Regions from separate parts of the Homo sapiens genome. Here region 1 is linked to region 2. Evidence: promoter capture Hi-C in human tissues and cell types (Jung and others, 2019). All regions are on one chromosome and are shown on one strand. The core of a region is centred on a gene start or on the middle of the fragment in contact, and the rest is flanking DNA. Distances in the headings are between cores, read along the strand shown. Region 1 has its middle 7.0 kb from the start of MLLT1. Region 2 holds the start of CAPS (calcyphosine).

What was found. Contacts are between HindIII fragments. The study calls those that stand out against the background at their distance.
Region 1: a contact is called between a fragment that was not itself captured here and the fragment with the promoter of CAPS in region 2, in 1 of the 25 tissues and cell types used here (pancreas).

The regions. Positions count from the first base shown.
Region 1 is chr19:6,284,881-6,289,146 of GRCh38, reverse strand. No RefSeq gene overlaps it. Among named protein-coding and RNA genes, the nearest start is that of MLLT1, 7.0 kb to the right of the region's middle. The HindIII fragment of the contact is 3,632 bases long and covers 142-3,773 here.
Region 2 is chr19:5,911,954-5,915,880 of GRCh38, reverse strand. It overlaps CAPS (calcyphosine), which reads right to left and starts at 1,627. Exons shown (of 5, transcript NM_004058.5): 1 at 1,572-1,627; 2 at 1,392-1,496; 3 at 1,141-1,318; 4 at 735-941; 5 at 1-660. The coding sequence starts at 1,474. The coding sequence ends at 559. The HindIII fragment of the contact is 10,666 bases long and covers 1-3,927 here.

The sequences.
Region 1 (4,266 bases), core at 708-3,207, 370 kb before region 2:
GGATTACTATGCCGGGGCAAGCTTGAGAGAGAACCTGGATAGGGAGGAGTTGAGGGGATTGATTCCCCTGCTGGAGGTACCTCTGGGGTATGCTTCCCTATTTCTCTGGGATTACCCCTTGCAGCTTCTCCTGAGAAGGCCATTAGGACAGCTGAATCAATCCTACAATGTTGGCAAAGGTCCAGATTACCCTGCAAGGCAAAGAAGGCCTGCATGTATGGGACCTTGGACCATTTATTTGCCCTTGTGTTTACAGAAAAGCTTCCTTCCTGAGGCCATGCTTCTGTTCTGTGCCTCAAGGTGCCTTGCACCAAGATGGCAACCAAGGAAATGACAATAACATTTTTCCCACAAAATTATGTACAGATACCAAGGCACACTTTGCTCATCTGTGCTACTCTTAACCTTCCATTTTATACTTTTGATGACTAAGCCAAATGCTCATTCTATCCAGTAATTTCTCTGTTTTGCAGCAACATTCTTAACATTTAACATTGTAGGCTGGATGCGGTGGCTCATACCTGTAATCCCAGCCCTTTGGGAGGGCGAGGCAGGTGGATGACCTGAGGTCAGGTGTTCAAGACAAGCCTGCCCAACATGGTGAAACCCCATCTCTATTAAAATACAAAAATTAGCCAGGCATGGTGGTGCATGCCTGAAATCCCAACTACTTTGGAGGCAGATGTTGCAGTGAGATAAGATCACACCACTGCACTCCAGCCTGGGCGACAGAGCAAGGCTCTGTCTCAAACACACACACACACACACACACACACACACGCGTGCGCACAGAAATTTAATGTTGTATATAAAGAAGAGATAGGAGCTGGGTGCAGTGGCTCATGCCTGTAATCTCAACACTTTGGGAGGTCAAGGTGGGTGGATCACCTAAGGTCAGGAGTCAAGATCATGCCATGCCACTGCACTCCAGCCTGGGCGACAGAGCAAGACTCCATCTCAAAAAAAAAAAAAAAAAAGAAGAGATAAGAACCTTGACAACCATGAAAGAAAGAAAGATAGGAGACTGGAGGTCCTAGTGCCAACAACACCCTAATGGGCGCTTAGGGACTTGAGTTTCAGGAGTTAGTCCAGGGGCCTTTGGATAACACTGAGGCATAGCCTCAGCCAGATACCCTCAGTTGCCCCAGGACCTCCTTCTGGTCCCATGTAACAGGTAGACCTCATGGAAGGAAACGGGATTGAAACAAACCCAACATTCTCAACACTTGAGGATGATGAGGGATTGACAGTGTCCTCCCCAGCAAGGCTATCATCCATGTTTTAAGTCCAGCATCTCTGCTAGTTAATTTTAACTGGCTAATAGAGGCCTGGTGTTTTTCTTTCATTTTAGCTATTGTTGAGTTTAGGGACTCCTAAAAAGGGACAGAAAGAGCAGATCTGCTTTTACTCACCCTTTCACTCACCCTTCTGCAGATCCTGGACGAGCCCTCAAAAATGTTGCAGGATCCTTGGGGTGTTGATTTCTGGTTGGAAACCTCTGTGGCTGGTGGCACCTTTGCCTGAGTTTTGCTCGGGCCCACTGGGCTCATTCCACCCACACGGCCTGGCAGGCTGTGCTCAGCTCACACTACTAGCCTGGATCTCACACTTGCCAAGGGCAAGCCAGGCATGGAGGGGCGAGGGGTGTGTGAGCAAGCAAGCAAGCATGAGGTCCGGCCACTGCATGCAGCCAGGCACACCAGCTGCTGCAGCAGAGCAGACAGCTCCAGGTGCTGGCAGGGGCCCTGGCTCTCTGAGAGGCTGCGGCCAGACCAGGTGCACCATAAGCAGCTTCCACAGCTGCCACCAGGGAATGCAGTGGCACTCAGAAGCTTGGAGACTATAGGAAACACTGGGGTCCAAAGAGGGAGTCACAGCCCTGGCTCAGGGAGCTCCTAGGTCCCTGAAGGGCCACAGCTCTTCTCTCCTTCTCTTCACCCACAACATGGCAAGGCGCATGTTTCAGCCCTGTGGGTTTTATAGCTCTTTCAGCCCTGCTGTTTAGCAGTTCCTGAATTCTTGTCCTGTGCCCAAGAAGAATGAGGTATGTGGACAAGTGGAGGGTGAGCAAGGTGAACAGGAGCTTTATTGAGCGACAGAGTAGCTCAGAGGAGGCCTTGGATTGGGTAGCTCCTCTCTGCAGGCAGTCCATCCTGTCATTTTCTGTGGCTCTCAGTGAAGAGGAGGCCCTGGAGTGGGTAGCTTCTCTCTGCGGGCAGGTTGTCCCATTGCTTGCCCAGCTTTCAGCAGAGGGGAGGCCCTGGAGTGGGTAGCTCCTCTCTGCAAGCAGGTTGTGCCATCATTCCCTGCAGCTCTCAGCAGAAGGAGGCCCTGGGGTGAGTTGCTTCTCTCTGCAGGCAGGTCATCCCATGTTCATCCCAGCTCTTAGCAAAGAAGAGGCCTTAGAGTGAGTTGCTCCTCTCTGCAGCTGGTAGTCCCGACGTCTCTGCAGCTCTCAGCAGAGAGGAGGCCCTGGAGTTGGTAGCTGCTCTCTGAAGCTGGTCATCCCGATATCTGCCCAGCTTTGGCTGAGCCCAGGGCTTTTATGGGCCTCAGAGGGGAAAAAATGCATGCTGATTGGTCCATGAGCAGGCCTGGAAAAGGCATCACATGTTTCCACTCCAGTCCATGGGGCTGGTAGCCCAGCCCCTAGCCTTCAGGCCCTCCCTGGCCTGAAGGTGGGGCCTCACCAGGGACCCATCCCCTTCCATCCAGGAACCTGTCTACCTCCTGCTGCTGTTGATGGTGCCCAGGCTATAGGTGCCAAGGGGCGCATGCAGGTCAGCACTGAGCTGCCCTCAGCCCCCCCTTTGGCTTCCCTCCTATGCTCGTTGGTGCCCGAAGTCCAGATGGGGCTGAGGTAGCAGGGGGCTGGTGTGTCTGTGCTGCCCCAAGTTTGTGCACACCCTGCCTGGCTGCAACAGCTCTGGGGCTCAGCCCCAACTTTGCTTTGAGATGGAGTGGGCACCAACAGCAGGGAGAAGCCAAGCAGTGGAAGCAGACATTTCTGAGCCTGCAAGGGCAGGGGGAACCTTCCCGGGCCCCTAGGAGTGCAGGGACTCCTAATCTGCAGCTGCAGTTTGGACAGCTGCAGCTGCACCTGGGAGGGTGGGGCTCCTGCCTGCCTCTGGGCCTGAGAGCCCAGTAATGCCCAGGTCTGTAGCCATGGCTTTAGTGGCTGCAGCACCACCCAGGGAGCTCCCACCCCAATGCAGAAGGGGCGGGGCTCCCACTTGTCACCAGCTTCTGCCAGATCTATGGAACATGCAGTCCTGGCCATTCCTCTGTGCTGCAGCTAGTAAGATGGTGGTGGCCAGTCCAGATGGCCAGCCACTGCCATCAGTGCAATCATAGCCCACTGCAGCCTCAAACTCCTGCGCTCAAGCAATCCTCCTGTCTCAGCCTTCTAAGTAGCTGGGACTACAGGTGCACACCACTACACCCTATTTTCTTCCTTTCTAAGGTTGAATAAGCTTCTATTGCATGGATAAACCATGTTTAGTTTATCCGCTCATGTGTCAGTAGACATTCAGTTCCTTCCTCATTATTCTTTTTTTTTCTTTTTTTTTTGAGACAGAGTCTCACTCTGTCGCCCAGGCTGAAGTGCAGTGGTGCAATCTTGGCTCACTGCAAGCTCTGCCTCCCGGGTTCATGCCATTCCCCGGCCTCAGCCTCCTGAGTAGCTGGGACTACAGGCGCCCGCCACCACACCCGGCTAATTGTTTTTTTTTTGTTTGTTTGTTTGTTTGTTTTGTATTTTTAGTAGAGACGGGGTTTCACTGTGTTAGCCCGGATGGTCTCAATCTCCTAACCTCGTGATCCGCCCTCTTCAGCCTCCCAAAGGGCTGGGATTACAGGCGTGAGCCACCACACCCGGCCCTTCCCCATTATTCTTTTCGATGTTCAAAGTATTCCACCTCAGCCAGTGGGAGCCCAGGGGATGCAGTTTTGAAAATTCCCAACAATTTAGAACCTAAGTGAACAGTAATTTCCCAACTGAATAAGGGGGAGGGGATTGAGTTCCAGAAGCTCATATTTGTAGCAAGTGTAGACTAAAGGTTCTTTCCTGCAAGCTTTCTTCAAAGACAGATGCTGGCCAGGCATGGTAACTCATGCCTGTAATCTCAGCACTTTGGGAGGCTGAGGCAGGTGGATCACTTGAGCCCAGGAATTCAAGACCAGACTCAGAAACATAACAAGACTCTGTCTCCACAAAAAAAAGAAAATACAAAAATTAGCTGAGCATGGTGGTATGAGCCTTTATTC
Region 2 (3,927 bases), core at 378-2,877:
CGCTGGACATGTTACCTGCTATTTTTATTCCCCATTTGCCATCTTCTGATTGGGGGTTGATGTTTTACAGATTTTTTTTTCAAAGGCTTTATTTCAGTTTCTGAGGTTAGGATGCCCCTGTGCCCCTCGCTCCACACCTGGGCAGGTCTAAACTTCCTTCCAGGATGGCCTCCACACACAGCCTCCCACCTGGGGTCACCTGGCTTCCTGGGGGACCCGCAAGGGAGGGGCAGGGAGCAGCAGTCCGGGTGCGGGGATCGGGGGACCTCGGCGGGGGCATCCACAGGGGCTGCAAGATCTCTGGTCAGCATGGCGTGGGTGGGGAGAGCGTTTCTCCCTGGGGTCCTGAGCCAGTGACTCCTGTTAGGACCTTTGTCCCACCTCCGCCTGGTGGACCGGCAGGGACCTGGTCTAGCCAGTCCTGCAGCCTCCATTCCCCCACCTGCCCCTCCCCGCTCTGTGGTGTGGCTGCCCAGGAGAGAAGGGGCCCAGGGAAGGGAGGTCTCCGGCAGGGGTGGGGAGTGACAGGCCAGGGCAGCAGGGCTGAGCCGGAGCTGCTCACAGCTGCCAGGCACTGGTCATCATGGCCACGAACTCCTCATCCGTGTTCATGGAGGCACTCACGCCGCTGTAGTAGTCCTGGAATTCCGCCAGTGTGACCTGGGAACAGAGGGCCGTGAGGGGGCACGGCCGAGGAACTGCCTGGGGAGGGGGCCCCCCGCGCAGCCACCCACCTGCCCGTCCTTCTCAGAGGAGTCGAAGTTGTCCAGGAAGCGGCGCAGCACCTCGTCCTCGGTCCACTCCCCACTGCGCACCTTGGGGTGGGCACGGCCACTGTACACCCCGCGGAGGTCGTCCACCGTCACGACGCCGTCCCCACTGCGGTCCAGCTTGGCAAATGCAGCTGCGATGACAGCCTCCCGGGCCTGGGACATGGGGGGCTGGGACAGGAGGTGGTGACTGGGGGTGGTGGGTAGCACACCCAAACCCCCAAGACGCTGTGCAGAGCACTGGGGCTGTATGCCCCAGCAGGCGCCTCTTAACAGCAGCTCTTAGGGAGGAGTCCCCGTCTCCGCATCTCAGCATCCTCTGTCGCCCCATGCCCAGGGCACACGCCTTGACTGTGAGGTGGGGGCTCACCCGCAGCGCCCGAAGGAACTCCTCCAGATCCAGCGTCCCGCTGCCATTGCGGTCCCACTTCCTGCACACACCCTCTGCCTCCGCCTGGTCCAGCACCAGCCCGAGTTTGGCCAGACCCTGCCGGAACTCATCAGCGTCCAGGGATCTGCTCCCGTCCCGGTCTAGTTGGCGGAAAAACCTGGAGGCAGGGGACACGGTTGGAACAGTGGTCTCAGGGGCCGGGGTCAGGAAGGTGAGAGGGGACAGCTCACCTGGCCAGGCCCTGGATGCCCGAGGCCCCGCGGGACAGGCACTGTGCCCGGAGTTTCTCCATGGTGGCATCCACGGCGTCCATGCTTGGTCTGGGCTCTGGGCAGCTGGAAGGGAGAGAGGTCAAGGTGGGGACTCCCGCAAGCCCACCCTGGCCGACTGCCCCTTGTTCAGATGCTCACCTGGCCTGCGTCTGTCCCAGAGTCCTGCCTGCGGGGCCTTGTGTTAGCTGTGTTGTGCCTGGGGAGACTGTTGCTAGTGGAAGGTGCCTCTGGAGATGGGGTGGGGCCCAGCTGCATGAATGCACTGTGCTGGGCAGTGGGGAGTGGGGGAGGGATGGGTGCGCCCAGCCTGACTGCTTACTCAACTGCCAGCCCCACAGGGCCTGGGACAGAGCCAGATCCCTGTGGCACTGCATCCCTTCCTGGCTCCAAGGAGGAGGGGCAGGCCACTGCCCTGCAGGGGCTGAAATGCCCTGGATGGAGACAAGTCCGTGGCTGGGGAGGCTTGACGCATGATTCCTGTGTGACCCTGGACAGGTCCCTTTCCCTCTCTGGCTTCACAGGGGCTTCTCAGCCCGAGCCAGGGCTGACAAAATTGCTGAGGAATCAAAGTTCAAAAGGGCCCCAGGTTCTGACCGGCCACTGCGGCTCATGCCTGAAATCCCAGCACTTTGGGAGGTCTAGGTGGGAGGATCACTTGAGCCCAGGAGTTTGGACCAGCCTGGGGAACATATAGAGAACTTGTTTCTATTGTACAGCAACAAAAATGCCCCAGGTGGGCTGGGCGCGGTGGCTCATGCCTGTAATCCCAGCACTTTGGGAGGCCGAGGTGGGCAGATCACAAGGTGAGGAGTTTGAGACCAGCCTGACCAACATGGTGAAACCCCGCCTCTACTAAAAATACAAAAATTAGCCGTGCATGATGGTGGGCGCCTGTAATCCGAGCTACTTAGGAAGCTGAGGCAGGAGAATCGCTTGAACCCAGGAGGTGGAGCTTGCAGTGAGCCAAGATTGCACCACTGCACTCCAGTCTGGGCGACAGAGCAAGACTCCATCTCAAAAAGAAAAAAAAAAAAAAAGCCCCAGGTGGCCCAGGTCCTGGGGCCCTAAGACCTCCCACCCAGGCCCACCTCCAAGGGCAGGTCCTGCAACCCACAGAGACTGAGCTGAGCCTGAGGGACACCTCTGCTCACTGCCACAAAGCTTGTCACTGGCCGTTGTTAGGAGCCAGTCCCAGGATTTCTGTCTTTACGGATCTTTTGTTGTTGGTTTTCAGGCCTGAAACGTGACTTAGTGGGCTGGCTCCTGACAAGGTGGTGAGCCAGAGGTTGTGACCCCGAGTGGAAGAGCAGCCCTGATCCTGGACATAAACCTCAAGAGACGAAGCCACCTCACTGAAGGCCTTCAACGGAGACATCGGATATACCTGCCCGCTAAGATAGGTGGGTTTTCCAGGACTTGAAACGTGGGCCCTGTTTGAGGACCCACTGTTCGCCCCGACCCAAGGATCATCAATCGGAGCCTTCTCCAAGCCTGGCTTTACCTCGCTCACAGCACAATTATATTGTCAGAAGTTGCCTTGCCTGAGCGCGGTGGCTCATGCCTGTAATCCCAACACTTTGGGAAGCCAGGGCAGGAAGATCACTTGAGCCCAGGAGTTTGAGACCCGCCTGTGCAACATAGTGAGACCCCCCCATCTCTACAAAAACTACAAAAAATTAGCCAGGCATGGTGGTGTGTTCCTGTAATCCCACCTACTTGGAAGGCTGAGGCAGGAGGATCACTTGAGCCCGGGAGTTGGAGGCTGCAGTGAGCTATGATCGCACCACTGCACTCCAGCCTGGGTTACAGAGCAAGACGCCCGCCTCTTAAAAATAAGTAAATAAACTGGCCGGGCACGGTGGCTCACGCCTGTAATCCCAGCACTTTGGGAGGCCGAGGCGGGCAGATCATGAGGTCAGCAGTTCGAGACCAGCCTGGCCAACATGGTGAAACCCTGTCTCTACTATAAATACAAAAATTAGTCAGCCGGGTGCGGTGGCTCATGCCTGTAATCACAGCACTTTGGGAGGCCGAGGCAGACAGATCACCTGAGGTCAGGAGTTTGAGACCAGCCTGGCCAACATGGTGAAACCCTGTCTCTACTTAAAATACGAAAAACTAGCTGGGCGTGGTGGTATGTGCCTGTAATCCCAGCTACTCGGGAGGCTGAGGCAGGAGAATTGCATGAACCTGGGAAGCGGAGGTTGCAGTGAGCCGAGATCGTGCCATTGCACTCCAGACTGGGGGACAAGAGCAAGACTTTGTCTCAAAAAAAAAAAAAGAAAATTAGCCAGGTATGGTGGCGGGTGCCTGTAATCCCACCTACTCCAGAGGCTGAGGCAGGAGAATCACTTGAACCCAGGAGGCAGAGGTTGCAGTGAACCAAGACCATGCCACTGCACCACAGCCTGGGCGACAGAGTGAGACTCTGTCTCAAAAATAAATAAATAACTTAAAAAAAGAGGCCAGGGCTGGGCGCGGTGGCTCACAGCTG